5 separate regions of the Homo sapiens genome follow, and regions 1, 2, 4 and 5 are each linked to region 3. Evidence: promoter capture Hi-C in 16 types of primary human blood cells and fetal thymus (Javierre and others, 2016). All regions are on one chromosome and are shown on one strand. Each heading gives the region's core, a stretch centred on a gene start or on the middle of the fragment in contact. The rest is flanking DNA. Distances are from core to core; before and after follow the strand shown. Region 1 holds the start of ABHD17A (abhydrolase domain containing 17A, depalmitoylase). Region 2 has its middle 8.3 kb from the start of CSNK1G2. Region 3 holds the start of LSM7 (LSM7 homolog, U6 small nuclear RNA and mRNA degradation associated). Region 4 overlaps BTBD2 (BTB domain containing 2). Region 5 overlaps GNG7 (G protein subunit gamma 7).

The links. The method cuts DNA at HindIII sites, captures the fragments that hold promoters and counts their contacts. A CHiCAGO score of 5 or more calls a contact.
Region 1: a contact is called between the fragment with the promoter of ABHD17A here and the fragment with the promoter of LSM7 in region 3, in 4 of 17 cell types (neutrophils, activated CD4 T cells, monocytes and 1 more). The highest score is 12.1, in neutrophils.
Region 2: a fragment that was not itself captured here is called in contact with the fragment with the promoter of LSM7 in region 3 in 1 of 17 cell types (neutrophils); the score reaches 5.2 in neutrophils.
Region 4: a fragment that was not itself captured here is called in contact with the fragment with the promoter of LSM7 in region 3 in 2 of 17 cell types (neutrophils and monocytes); the score reaches 5.7 in neutrophils.
Region 5: a fragment that was not itself captured here is called in contact with the fragment with the promoter of LSM7 in region 3 in 2 of 17 cell types (total B cells and M2 macrophages); the score reaches 6.1 in total B cells.

The regions. Positions count from the first base shown.
Region 1 is chr19:1,884,089-1,886,788 of GRCh38, forward strand. ABHD17A (abhydrolase domain containing 17A, depalmitoylase) reads right to left here and starts at 1,408. Exons shown (of 5, transcript NM_001130111.2): 1 at 1,264-1,408. RefSeq lists a silencer at 673-820. The HindIII fragment of the contact is 20,961 bases long and covers 1-2,700 here.
Region 2 is chr19:1,931,499-1,934,198 of GRCh38, forward strand. No RefSeq gene overlaps it. Among named protein-coding and RNA genes, the nearest start is that of CSNK1G2, 8.3 kb to the right of the region's middle. The HindIII fragment of the contact is 7,321 bases long and covers 1-2,700 here.
Region 3 is chr19:2,327,213-2,329,912 of GRCh38, forward strand. LSM7 (LSM7 homolog, U6 small nuclear RNA and mRNA degradation associated) reads right to left here and starts at 1,374. Exons shown (of 4, transcript NM_016199.3): 1 at 1,349-1,374; 2 at 1,175-1,265. The coding sequence starts at 1,354. SPPL2B (signal peptide peptidase like 2B) reads left to right here and starts at 1,472. Exons shown (of 15, transcript NM_152988.3): 1 at 1,472-1,563. The coding sequence starts at 1,498. RefSeq lists silencers at 379-478, 1,499-1,758 and enhancers at 749-808, 1,089-1,743, 1,179-1,228, 1,239-1,288. The HindIII fragment of the contact is 4,029 bases long and covers 1-2,700 here.
Region 4 is chr19:1,984,415-1,987,114 of GRCh38, forward strand. BTBD2 (BTB domain containing 2) reads right to left here. Exons shown (of 9, transcript NM_017797.4): 8 at 2,416-2,562; 9 at 1,034-2,235. The coding sequence ends at 2,074. Among named protein-coding and RNA genes, the nearest start is that of BTBD2, 30 kb to the right of the region's middle. The HindIII fragment of the contact is 8,980 bases long and covers 1-2,700 here.
Region 5 is chr19:2,595,372-2,598,071 of GRCh38, forward strand. The region is part of intron 2 of GNG7 (G protein subunit gamma 7); the gene reads right to left. Among named protein-coding and RNA genes, the nearest start is that of MIR7850, 34 kb to the right of the region's middle. The HindIII fragment of the contact is 4,165 bases long and covers 1-2,700 here.

The sequences.
Region 1 (2,700 bases), core at 158-2,657, 440 kb before region 3:
CCTCAAAGCTGGGACAGGACCCCTTACACGCTCTTTCCACAGCTTGTATTTTTCACACGTTTGGCCAGATCTCCCCCCACCTCCAAACCAGAAACTCTATGAGAGCAGGACCATGACCTGCCACTCACTAAAGGAATGGGCAGGTGGTAGGCAGCACAGAATTAAGGAGGAAGCACAGGAGGAAAAGAATCCCCAAGGTCCGCCAGCTTTGACAGGGAAGGGAAAGTCTAGTCTCCTCTCCTCTCCAGCCACAGGTACCTGGAACCTCCCTAGTGTCACTAATGGGCGTGGACTGGGGAGTGCAAACCCAGACGCCTCACTCACTGGGCACACACCCTTGACACCCTGAATCCCACCAATTCCGTTCCCACGCACTTAACTGGGCAACCCTCTGCAAGCTAGAGGTGTTCTGAGGACCAGCAAGCAACCGAGCAGCCAAAATACTGGAAGATGACCTACATATGGGAGACGGTGACTGCACCTCACTCAACCAGTCAGGGTGGGAAACCCGCCTGGGGGGAGGCGCGGCCATATCAGAGGGCAGACAAACGGGCCAGGTGACAGGGGGATGGGACAGAGGGACAAGCAGGAGCAAAATCCGAGGTGACAGAGCAGGCTCCTGGCTAGAGCAGACCCTGGGAGGAAGAAGTGAGCAGAAGGGTCCTAAGAGAGAGCCTGGGACGGGTGAGGTCGCGCCCCCGAGAGTTTGCACTTCATCCTGGGAGAAATGGCGGGGCCGCGAAGAAGTCCCGAGCAAGCGATGGACAACATAGGAGAAGGGCTGCATCCCGGAGAACGGACGCGAGCGGAGGCCGGGAAGCCCGCCCAGGAGTCAGGGTGGCAGGAAGAAGCCTGACAAGGGAAACAGCGACTGGGAGCTGGTTGGGAAGCAGGGCTCGGGAGGGCCCCTGGGAGCTGCCTTGGGGGGCGAGAGGCCGAAGCGTTTGTCGGACTGGGGGCAGTTTCGGGGCAAAAGAGCGGAATCCGCGGCTCGGACGGGTGCTCCCCGAAGGCAAGGGCCGCGTCCGCAGGAGGGTGGGAGCGCAACCCACGCCGGAGGGCTGAATGGATGGGGACAGGGCTTTCCCAATCACAGACGCTCATCCGCGGTCCGCGCCCCTGCTCTGGGCTCCTCGGGCAGGACCCGCGGAAGCCCTGGGACTGCAGGGGTCTCGGGGACGTCCAACCGGGCTGTCAGGCCCTCGAGGCCCGGCCCGGGACCCCGCGCGGCCGCGCCCGCCCCCGCCCCTGCCCGGCACTCACCACCCCGGCCCGCGCCCCCGGGCCCCAGGGCCGCGCTCCATGGCTCCCGGCCGCCCGCCCGTGCGTCCGTCGGTCCCTCCGCACCCCTGCCCGGCCTCCTGCACCGCCACCGCCGCAGCTCCCCCCACGGACGGAAGTGAGCCTCGTTCTCACCACCGCCCCGGAAGTGACGCGAGGAGCGCGCGGGGCGGGGGTCTGCAGGCACAGAGCGACCGCGCGACTAGCGTCCTGGGGGCGGGGCTGATATGTCGAGGGGCGTGGCCTGCTGCTCTGTGGGCGGGGCCAAACTTAGGTTTCATTCACTTGGGGACCCGGAATAGGTTGAGGCCAGTAAAGTTCTCGCCTGGAAAACAAAATTTACAGGGACGCCAAAAAAAACTCAGACATCAACATTTAGAAATGTTTTAAAATATTTTTCTTTATGAGATGGAGTCGCGCTCTGTCGCCCAGGCTGGAGTACAATGGCGCGATCTCAGCTCACTGCAACTTCTGCCTCCTGGGATCAAGCGATTCTCCTGCCTCAGCCTCCTGAGTAGCTGGGATTACCGGCGCCCACCACCATGCCCAGCTAATTTTTGTGTTTTCAGTAGAGACGGGGTTTCCCCATGTTGGCCAGTGTGGCCTCGAACTCCTGACCCCAGAATCCTCCTGCCTCAGCCTCCCAAAGTGTTGGGATTACAGGCATCAGCCACCGCACCTGGCCTCTTTTTTTTAACATAGAGTCTACTCTGTCACCCAGGCTGGTGCCATCATAGCTCACTGCAGCCTCGACCTCCCAGGATCAAGTGAACCTCCTACTTCAGCCTCCTGAGTAGCTAGGACTATAGGCACAAGCCACCATGACCAGCTTATTTAAAGTCTTTATATATTGCTCATCAGAAATTCTTTTGCATTAGTTTTTAAAATATTACATTAGGCCGGGCACGGTGGCTCATGCCTGTAATCCCAGCACTTTGGGAGACTGAAACAGGTAGATCACCTGAAGTCAGGAGTTTGAGACCAAGCCTGACCAACGTGGTGAAACCCTGTCTCTACTAAAAATACAAATATTAGCCGGGCATGGTGGCACGCGCCTGTAGTCCCAGCTACTCCGGAGGCTGAGGCAGGAGAATCGCTTGAACCCGGGAGGCGAAGGTTGCAGTGAGCCAAGATCGGGCCACTGTGCTCCAGCCCAAGTGACAGAGCAAGAAGACTGTCTCAGATAAATAAATAAATAAATAAATAAATAAATAAATAAATAAATAAAACTATGATCACTCCACTGCATTCCAGCCTGGGCGAGAGAGCAAGATCCTGTCTCTTAAAAAAATTTCATTATGGGCTGGGCGCGGTGGCTCACGCCTATAATCCCAGCACTTTGGGAGGCCGAGTCGGGCAGATCATGAGGTTAGGAGATCAAGACCATCCTGGCTAACACGGTGAAACCTCATCTCTACT
Region 2 (2,700 bases), core at 17-2,516, 400 kb before region 3:
CCCAGCCTCTTCTTTTTTATTAAAAAAAATAATAATTTGTTTTTGCTTAATTTATTTCACCAGTCATATCACAAAGACATGTGTTGTTTTAGGCCACTGAGTTTGGTATAATTTGTTATGCAGCAGTAGCTGACTGATACAATAGGTGTTCCTGGATTATCTTCAGAAACCTGATAATAATATGTACACTAACTAGGGCTGTATCAGGGTGCATGGCAGGGTTTTTGAAGGCATTTTAAAGAGGTTTAGTTCCTGTCCTCAGGAGCTGCTGCCTAGTGGGGCAGACAGACCATGAATATCCATCATGGAAGGCAGAACACATAAGTACATGGACGAAAGCAGTTCCAGAGGCTGGTGGGTTGGATTCATTTGGCCTGATGTATCATGGAGTCCTCCCAAAAGAGGTGATCATCTGCCTGAGCTTTGCCAGACCTGTTGGGCTGAGAGAAGCCAGACAAGGCTCAGATGGGTGGAGGGTCAGGGTGGGTTGGAAAGGAACAAGTCAGTATGGGTGCAGAGGGCGTCCTGATGGATAGATGGGGCTGCGAAGTGGAACCAGCCATTGAGGCAGCCTCGAATGCTGTCCCCATTGTGGGGACTTTGAAAAGCCACCCTCCTTTGAAACACAGAAGGGGCAAGGAGTAAATTTATATTTCTTTTTTTCTTTTTTTTTGTTTTGAGACGGAGTCTCACTCTGTCACCCAGGCTGGAGTGCAGCGGCACCATCTTGGCTCACTGCAAGCTCTGCCTCCTGGGTTCACGCCATTCTCCTGCCTCAGCCTCCCAAGTACCTGAGACTACTGGCGCCCGCCACCATGCCTGGCTAATTTTTTGTATTTTTAGTAGAGACGGGGTTTCACCATGTTAGCCAGGATGGCCTCGATCTCCTGACCTCGTGATCTGCCTGCCTCAGCCTCCCAAAGTGCTGAGATTACAGGCATGAGCCACCGCGCCCGGCCAATTTATATTTCTGGTAAGGGGTGGGAAGAAGGAGCTTTCTCAGGCTGGAGGGGAGAGAAGACAGATGAGCACAGACACTCCTGGCAGCGGCATGAGGGCCGGGGAGCAGGTGCAGGGCACAGCGGGGCTCTGCAGGGCGGTTGTAGTTGGTGAGGACCACTGGAGCAGGGCCTTGAAGGGCGTCACCCCTCACCTGGCTGCCTCTGGGCCATCCTCCAGTCTGCCAGGGACTAGCAGAGGGGAGAAAGTGGGAGAGGAATCATTATTTGATGACCTCATTCAGCCCTAGGGATTTGGGGTGGCTAAGGTAGAATGGCAGTGGATTATATCTGACATGATGCGGGGTGTCCGGGCTCAGCTGGGCAGTTCTGCTCCCTGTGGTGATGGGGGGTAATCAGCAATCATTTAGTGGCTTTCCCTGGCCGGGAATGTTTGAGGTAGCTCACTCACAGGGCTGGCAGGTGGTGCCTGCTCAGTGGTGCCATCACCCAGGGGCTTCCAGGTGGCTGCCTCACAAGATGGCAGCTGGGTTCCAAGCAGAAAGGACGCTGTTGAGTTCTTTTTTTTTTTTTTTTTTTTTTGAGACACAGTCTCACTCTGTCACCCAGGCTGGAGTGTAATGGCGCAGTCTCGGCTCACTGCAACCTCCACCTCCCAGGTTCAAGTGATTCTACTGCCTCAGCTTCCCGAGTAGCTGGGATTACAGGTGCCCACCACCACGCCCAGCTAATTTTGTATTTTTAGTAGAGACAGGGTTTCACCGTGCTGGCTAGGCTGGTCTCAAACTCCTGACCTCGGGTGATCTGCCCGCCTCGGCCTCCCCAAGTGCTGGGATGACAGGTGTAAGCACCATGCCCAGCCTACTGTCGAGCTCGTAAGACCCTCCCTCAGAAGTCTCAAGGCACCACTTCCCCTGCCTTCTGTTGCTAAAACAGGTCACAGGAGCAGCTACATTCAGGGGAGGGGAAATGAACTGTGTCTTTCCGTGGGAGGAGCAGCAAAGAATCTGTGACCATCACACCCAGCTTTTGAACCACTTCTTCTTTGTGTCTCAGTGTTTGTGGCATGCAGCATCCCTGTTGCCTGGGTCCAGGATGCCACCCTCCTACTGGGGTTGCAGCACCAAGGGGCTGGGCATTCCATCGAGCTGAGGGGTGGGGGCTCTGGATGGGAGGCTCCCTGGGGGGAGCTCACATCTTCCATGAAGCATCATGGTCATTGTTGCCCTGTCCTGCACCCTGTCCACTGCAGGCTGCCCTCTGTGGCTGGCCTTGGTGACAAGAGATGTGGGAGAGACCCTGGTCACCACCATGGGAGGAGTCCCCAGGCACCAGGGGCAAATGAACAGAGTGAATGCCAGGAGGACCATTTAGGTGCAATATGACCAAAAATAAGTTAAGTCCAAGTGGGCTGCATCATCAACAAGAACATCCCCCAGCCTCCATGAAACAGCCCAAAACCTGGAGCAAGACGGTTCCCTGACGCTGAGCGATGCCATTCACAGCAGCGTTCCTGAATACCCCCCATGCAGGCACTCACATGCTCACACACACAATACACAAACCAACACACACCACACACAGGCATGCCAAACACAGGCACACAAATGCACACCCCCCCATAGACCCACCGACGAACACACACACACACACCCAGATGCACAGGTGCGCACACACACCCACGCACACAAAGACCCAGAGACAGACATGTGCACACACATACATATGCACACATGTACGC
Region 3 (2,700 bases), core at 124-2,623:
TGTCCGGAGTCAGCATGGTGTAGACTGAGAAAACATTTTATTCATATTCCTTTTTCTTTTTGTTTTGAGACGGAGTCTTGCCCTATCGCCAGGCTGGAGTGCGGTGGCACAATCTCGCCTCTGGGGTTCAAGCAATTCTCCTGCCTCAGCCCCCCGAGTAGCTGGGACTACAAGCGTGCGCCACCATGCCCAGCTAACTTTTTGTATTTTAGTAGAGACAGGGTTTCACCACGTAGGCCAGGATGGTCTTGATCTCCTGACCTCCTGATCTGCCTGCCTCGGCCTCCCAAAGTGTCAAGATTAAAGGCATGAGCCACTGTGCCTGGCCTCCTTTTTCTCTTTTGAGACTGGGCCTTGCTCTGTGGCCCAGGCTGGAGTGCAGTGGTGCGGTCATAGCTCACTGCAGCCTCAAACCCTAGGGTGAAGCCACCCTCCTGCTTCAGACTCCCAAATTGCTGGGATTACACACGTGAGCCGCCCCGTCCGGCTGGGGCACTGTGATTTTTAATAACTCTCATGCCACCCAGTTGTCTACAATCCAGGGACAAAGAGGTTTGGGTCCCCGTCTTACAAAAAAAAGAAACCAAAGATCCAAGAGGCTATTGAATAAGTGACGTGTTGTCTGACTGCTTACTTCCTGCTGAGAGCTGCCTCAATTACATTACATGCCTGTAACCATTCATTCTCACCACCCCCTGTGAAGTGGGTGGAGTTACCAGCCCCATTTGACAAATGAGGAAACGGAGGCTAGGAGAAGGCAGCTCACTTGCCCAGTCAAAAATGCTAGGCTGGGCATGGTGGCTCATGCCTGAAATCCCAGCAATTTAGGGGGCTGAGGCAGGCAGATCGCTTGAGGCCAGGAGTTTGAGACCATCCTGGCCAACATGGCCTCTCTACTAAAAATACAAATATTAGCCGGGCGTGGTGGTACACATTAATTCCAGCTACTCGGGAGGCTGAGGCACAAGAATCACTTGAACCTGGGAGGCGGAGGTTGCAGTGAGCTGAGATCGCACCACTGCACTCCAGCCCGGGTGACAGAGCGAGACTGCGTCTCAAAAAAAATAATGAAAATAAATAAAAGAGGTGCTTCCGCATGCGTCCTCATCATCTCTGTTGCTGGGTTTATTTGAAATTTTTAAAGAGGGGGTACCGACAGCGGGAGCCTCCTCACCTTCGCGGCCTCCCTGGAACTTTACCCGGATCGTCTTGTCGATGTACTTGGACAAGTCCAAGATGCTCTCCTTTTTCTTCTTCTCCTTATCCTGCGGGGAAAGCAGAGCGCATGAGACCTGGAGCGCGGCCCGAGCTCCACGCCCCCCGGCTCCAGATTCCGCCGCGCGCTCACCGCCATCTTGTCGCGCCGTGTGGCTCTTCGCAGGCACCGCCCCGCGCCCTTTGACCTCCCCCACGCGCATGCGCGGCGCATGCGTGGCCCGGGGTCTCGGGGCGTTGCTGGGAAACATCTGCCGTTGGTTGCGGCGGGCACCGGCCGACATGGCGGCAGCGGTGGCGGCTGCGCTGGCGCGGCTTTTGGCGGCCTTTCTGCTCCTCGCGGCCCAGGTGAGCGCGGCACCGGTCCCGACGGCACCGCGGGCTGCGGCCCTTCGGCCTCTCTGTCCCCGGGCTACGCGCAGGAACGACCCCGCTCGGCCCGTCTTGGGGGTCCAGCCTCGGGGATCCGCCGTCCCCGCGTTGTCGGCCGGCGGTGCCGGGGCTCGGCCGTGACCTTGCGGGTCTGTCCCCGGCTCCTCTCCTTTCCCCGCCTCGGAGGCCCTCCGCCGCTGCAGCGCCACTCACTTCCCACCGGGTCTGAAATTTGTGCCCCCTCCATCCTCCGGTTCTGCTTCTCCGTTTCGGGGTCTCCAGTTGCCGCCGGGGACGCCTCTCTCCGGCTCTGTGGCCTTGAGCAGGCGGCTGCCCACCCCTCTCCGAGCCTCAGTTTCCCCTTAGGCGGAACGGGCACGGTGCTAAGCTAACCTCACCCTAGGGGGTGCGGTGGGGGAACCCAGAGGCGTCCCGCGCGTCCCCCAGTAACTGGCAGCATCCTGGAGCGGCCAGGAGTCCAGCCCTGCACTGGGGTCGGATCCCCGCTCCATCTTTTACTCCGTGACCTTGGACGATGGAATTCGTGTGCAGAAGGAGGACCGACTATGGTGTGGATTCTGGAGGTTCTGTCCAGGGTGACCAGCGCCCAGGGCCAACAGGCCTTCATTATGTTCATTGTGTGTCATTTGATGTAAAGAGTGTCAGGTTCTAGTGGGGACAGTCTACGAGATCGCACTGTCATAACTGCATCTTTTATTTTCTTAATTCCAAATCTTCCCTCTCTCCTGAGTTCGGTGGCTCAGGCAATGGAACCTGGAGCAGCCCCACAAATGCAGCCCTTAACCTTCACTACCCCCTCAGAGTTCTCACTCTTAAGGCGTCGCCGCCACCTGGCTCCTCAGTCTCCACTCCTCCAGCCCCACCGCTATCCCTCTGCTGTGGCTGCCTTTGTCCACCACATCCCCAGTCCATCCTCGACACAGCAGGGGTGACCCTTTCAAAGTATGTCAGACCGTGTCGCATCCAGATGAGTGCGCCGTCCAGTTGTGACCTGGCTGCTGGGGAAGCCTGCAGCTCATTGCAGTCGCTTCACTCTCTAGTCTTTTCTCTTACCCTGAGATGCCCCTGGTCTCTGCAAGGCTGTCGGGCCCC
Region 4 (2,700 bases), core at 201-2,700, 340 kb before region 3:
GGTGGGTGGCCCTTCTGGTGTCTTCATTAGAAGCCCAAGGTGTTTCCTTTTAATATGTATTTTTTTAGAGATGGGGTCTTGCTGTGTTGCCCAGGCTGGTCTCAAACTCCTGGCCCCTAGCAGTTCTGCCTCAGCCTGCCAAAGTGCTGGGATTGCAGGTGTGAGCCAGCACGCCCGGCCCCCAGGGTGTTCGACAAGGCCCCCTACCCCGCCAGCCTCCATCTCCATTGCCTGCTCCCAGCACTGCGCACTGTGGAGATCTGCTCAGCCTTCAGCCTCCTGGCAACTGTTTGCGGCTGGCTTTTTTTTTTTTAGACGGAGTCTTGCTTTCTCGCCCAGGCTGGAGTGCAATGGCACCATCTTGGCTCACTGCAACCTCCATCTCCCAGGTTCAAGCGATTCGCCTGCCTCAGCCTCCCAAGTAGCTGGGATTACAGGTGCCTGCCACCATACCTGGCTAATTTTTGTGTTTTTAGTAGAGATGGGGTTTCACCATGTCGGCCAGGTTGGTCCTGAACTCCTGACCTCAGGTGATCCACCCGCCCGGCCTCCCAAGGTGCTGTAATGACGTGTGAGCCACCACGCGGCCTTGCTGCCGGGTTTCTTGATGTCTTGCCCTGCACGTGTGCTCCTGAGGCAGCAGCCAACGGCTTGACTTCTCTGGCCACTGAGGCCACAACTGGGCACTCCCTGCTTTCTCTCCATCTCTCACATCCACGGTCCCCCAGCAGCCAGCAGGGCCTCCCCACGGGGAAATCGGCACACACGTCCATTGCATTTGGGTTTGGGGGGAGGTGTTGAGTTAGTTAGGGTCTTGCTCTTGCCCAGGGGGGAGGGCAGTGGTGCATCACTGCTCACTGCAGTCTCGACCTCCCGGGCTTCAGTGTGGCCTGTGGGTACTTAAGGAGGGTCTCGCAGCACTGGCGACCAGACCCGGGGTTCAGGGCCCCTCTCGGCGCACGACATCCCTCGCCCACTGCAGCCCGGATGACAGGGCAGAGAGTGAAGGGGAGCAAAGCAGTGTGCGCTCAAGGCAGGTGCATTTGTTTCTTTATTTAAAAAAATCATCTGGGGGCATGGTCTGAGGAGGACACCCCTCCCATGGCTTTGGGGAGGACGCAGGTTCCAGGAGTCACAGGGCAGAAACACGCGGGGTGGGTGGGGGCGTGGCCGGAGTGGGGAGGGGCTGTGCCCCCAGCACCTGGGGGTGGCTCCCACGGCACCAGGTGGGCTAGGGCAACAGTATGTACAGGCGAGCAGTGCTCCTGGACCCGGTCGGGGCCGGCTGGGGCCCCATTCTGCGGCAGGGGAGCTCTGGGGCACAGGGTCTGAGTCCCATCTTGGGCTGCAGGGACCGCGAGGGCCGTCCAGGGAGGCTGGACAGCGGGGGCCTTTATCTGGGCCCATCAGGTGGATGAGAACGGACACTGCAAACCGCTCACCACCTGGGCCAGGGCTAGGCCTATCCGGCAGGGGCCGTCCCCACACTGAATCCTGCGTGCGCAGAACTCAAGCCGGCATCCAGGCAGTGGGAACGCCCCGCAGGCTGGGCTTGGGTGGCCTCGGGCACGTGACAGGTGGGGCCCGTGTCCTGATAAACGGACAGGAACAAAAGGAACGCAAGGTCTGGGACCCACGGCTCTGGGAGCAGCGCCACCCAGGCTGGCTCCTAGCAGAGAAATGGGAATCGCAAATGCATTGCAATGTGCAGTGAAGAGACGCGAGGGACGCCCGCGGCGCACCGCCGGCAGACGACGTGGGCAGGCGCCCTGAGCTGCGGGTCCGTGGGCCCTGGCCCAGGCCGGCACAGCCCTGTCCCTAGTCCTGAGGGATTGTCTCCACAGGGCCTGGCCACTGGCCTGGCCACCTCCCCGGCTGCCCTGATCCAGCAGCCACACTCGTGGTGAACACAGGGCAACCCCGTCCTGATGCTGAGAAAGGTGGCATGGAGTGGACAGACGGCCTGGGGGACACTGGGCCTGGCACCGCGTGGTGGGGGGGCCCCAGCAGCAGATGATGGCCTGGGGCTGCGGCTATCCCCACGGAGGGAGGGCGGTGTCGGTGTCGGGCAGCCTAGGTGTAGAAGATGACCTCGGGGATCTGGCCGTCCTCCACGGATGTGCCATTGTTGTTCCCGGCCGCGTAGCAAAAGGTGAAGCAGGTCTTGGCGCCCGTGGTGGGCGACTCGTGTGTCACCTTGCGCAGGCCTTTGGTGCCGTAGTGGGAGTCTGGGCCCTGTAGGGAATAGGGGTACAGTGAGGTCAAGGACCACCAGGCTGGGATGCCCCAGGTGTGGACAGGGCAAGGCCCCGACTGGGCCAGGGTGGCTGCCTCTGGAGAGTGTGTGCTGTGCCCCGGTGGCTTCAGGATGGGCCAGAGACTCCCACGGAGGGACCCCTGTCCCCGGCGGCGCACCTTGAGCGTGGCACAGGCCGTGTAGTTGACGTTGGGCAGCACCTCCACCGGCTCCTTGAACATGACGCGGAAGGTGCTGGCTGAGCCGTCGCAGCTGAAGCCCGTGTCGTTCTGGCCCAAGACGGTGTTGCTATCGGTGTGAATAATCTGCGGGGAGGTGGGAAGTGGGAGGCTCAGGCCTGGGGAGGGCCAACGGGGACCCCTCGAGGCCCAGCCCACCTGCCCAGGGTGGGGGCAGCACAGGGACCAGGGCCGGGGGTTCAGCCAGGGTTCCATGGAGGTGGA
Region 5 (2,700 bases), core at 149-2,648, 270 kb after region 3:
TCCACACACCTCAGCCTCCCAAAGTGCTGGGATTATAGGTGTGAGCCACCATGCCCGGCTGAAAGGAAATTAAATTTAAGGGCCGAGTGCAGTGGCTCATGCCTGTAATCCCAGCACTTTGGGAGGCCGAGGCGGGTGGATTGCCTGAGCTCAGGAGTTTGAGACCAGCCTGGGCAACATAGCAAAACTCCGTCTCTAGTAAAAATACAAAAAATTAGCCGGGCGTGGTGGCGGGTGCCTGTAATCCCAGCTACTCGGGAGGCTGAGGCAGGAGAATGGCGTGAACCCGGGAGGCGGAGCTTGCAGCGAGCCAAGATCGCACCACTGCACTCCAGCCTGGGCAACAGAGTGAGACTCTGTCTCAAAAAAAAAAAAAAAGAAATTAAATTTAAAAAGGTAAAAAGCAGCTCAGGACCGCCAATGTACAATGCACTCCATATGGCTGTACGTATCTATGTGAGTGTGCATGTGTAGGAAAAGTCTAGGGAGTTTCAGTGGTTAGACGACAATGACCAGGACAACTGTGTGAGCAGCACCTGTGTGGCACTGAGTCATCTCAGGCTCTCCACTCGGCTCTGTCCATCAACGACCGAATCCAGCTCTCACGGCGACTCTACGCTGCATGCTTGTTACTCTACTACAGAGGAGGAAGCAACGCTTACGAAAACCAAGGACCAGAAGAACTCACAATCAAAACTAGTGGGCGGCCGGGCGCGGTGGCTCATATCTGTAATCTCAGCACTTTGAGAGGCCGAGGCGGGCGGATCACCTGAGGTCAGGAGTTTGGGACCAGCATGGCCAACATGGTGAAACCCCATCTCTACTGAAAATACAAAAATTAGCCGGGTGCGGTGGTGCATGCCTGTAATCCCAGCTACTTGGGAGGCTGAGACAGGAGAATCGCTTGAACCCAGGAGGTGGAGGTTGCAGTGAGCTGAGATCGTGCCTCTGCACTGCAGCCTGGGCGACAGAGTGAGAGTCGGTCCCTAAAATTAAAATAAAAAATAGTAGGCAGGCCCAGCGCGGGGCTCACACCTGCAATCCCAGCACTTTGAAAGGCTGAGGCAGGAAAATCACTTGAGCCCAGGAGTTTCAGACCAGCCTGGGTAACATAGTGAGACCCCGTCTCAATTAAAATTAAAAAAAAATTAAGCAGGTGTAGTGATATCCACCTGTGGTCCCAGCTACTCAGGAGGTTGAGGTGGGAGGATCGCTTGAGTCCAAGAGGTTGAGGCTGTAGTGAGCCATGATTATGCCACTGCACTCCAGCCTGGGTGACAAAGTGAGACCCTGTCCCCCCCCCAAAAAAAAAAGTGGGCAAATATCGACCCAGTTGTTCTCCTTTCACGTTCTGCACTGATGATCAGTTCCCATCCACCCCACACTGTTAACAGTGGTTAATTCTGGGGAGTGAGATTTGTGATGAAGATGTCTCCATTCTCACTCCTGCAGTACGAGACTTCTTTACAAATATATTCTCAACAGGGTGAACATCAATTCTTGGGGAGATGAAAACAAATTTTACTTTTTTTATGGATTAAGCCCAGAAAACAGAACATAAACAGATACACAGTCTATCTATGATATTGAAATTTCACAGGTATAGGCTGGGCTCGGTGGCTCACACCTGCAATCCCAGCACTTTTGGAGGCTGAGGTGGGAAGATCACTTGAGGCCAGGAGTTCAAGATCATCCTGGACAACATAGCAAGACCCAATCTCTAGAAAGAATAAAAATTTAAAAATTATCCAGGCATGGTGGTGTGCACCTGTTATCCCAGCTTTGGTGACTGAGGCGGGAGGATTGCTTGAGCCTGGGAGTTGGAAGCTGCTGCAGGGAGCTGAGATGGCGTTACTGCACTCCAGCTTGAGTGACAGAGAAAGAAGATCCTGTCTCTAAGATAAAAACAAACAAAAACTCCATTATATAATAATGCTACTTGGGGCCAGTCACAGTGGCTCACGCCTGTAATCCTAACACTGTGGGAGGCCGAGGCAGGCGGATCACCTAAGGTCAGGAGTTTGAGACCAGCCTGGCCAACATGGTGAAACCCCGTGTCTACTAAAAATACAAAAATTAGCTGGGCGTGGTGGCGGGCACCTGTAATCTTAGCTACTCAGGAGGCTGAGGCAGGAGAATCGCTTGAACCCAGGAGGTGGAGGTTGCAGTGAGCCGAGATCACGCCACTGCACTCCAGCCTGGGTGACAAGAGCAAAACTCCTTCTCAAAAATAATAATAATAAGGCCGAGTGTGGTGGCTCACACCTGTAATCCCAGCACTTTGGGAGGCCGAGGTGGGTGGATCACGAGGTCAGCAGATCGAGACCATCCTGGCTAACACGGTGAAACCCCGTCTCTACTAAAAATACAAAAAATTAGCCAGGCGTGGTGGCGGGCGCCTGTAGTGCCAGCTACTCGGGAGGCTGAGGCAGGAGAATGGCGTGAACCCAGGAGGCAGAGCTTGCAGTGAGCCGAGATTGCGCCACTGCACTCCAGCCTGGGCAACAGAGTGAGACTCTGTTTCAAAAAAAAAAAAAAAAAAGAAATTAAATTTAGAAAGGTAAAAAGCAGCTCAGGACTGCCAATGTACAATGCGCTCCATATTGCTGTACGTATCTATGTGAGTGTGCATGTGTAGGAAAAGTCTAGGGAGTTTCAGTGGTTAGACGACAATGACCAGGACAACTGTGTGAGCAGCAC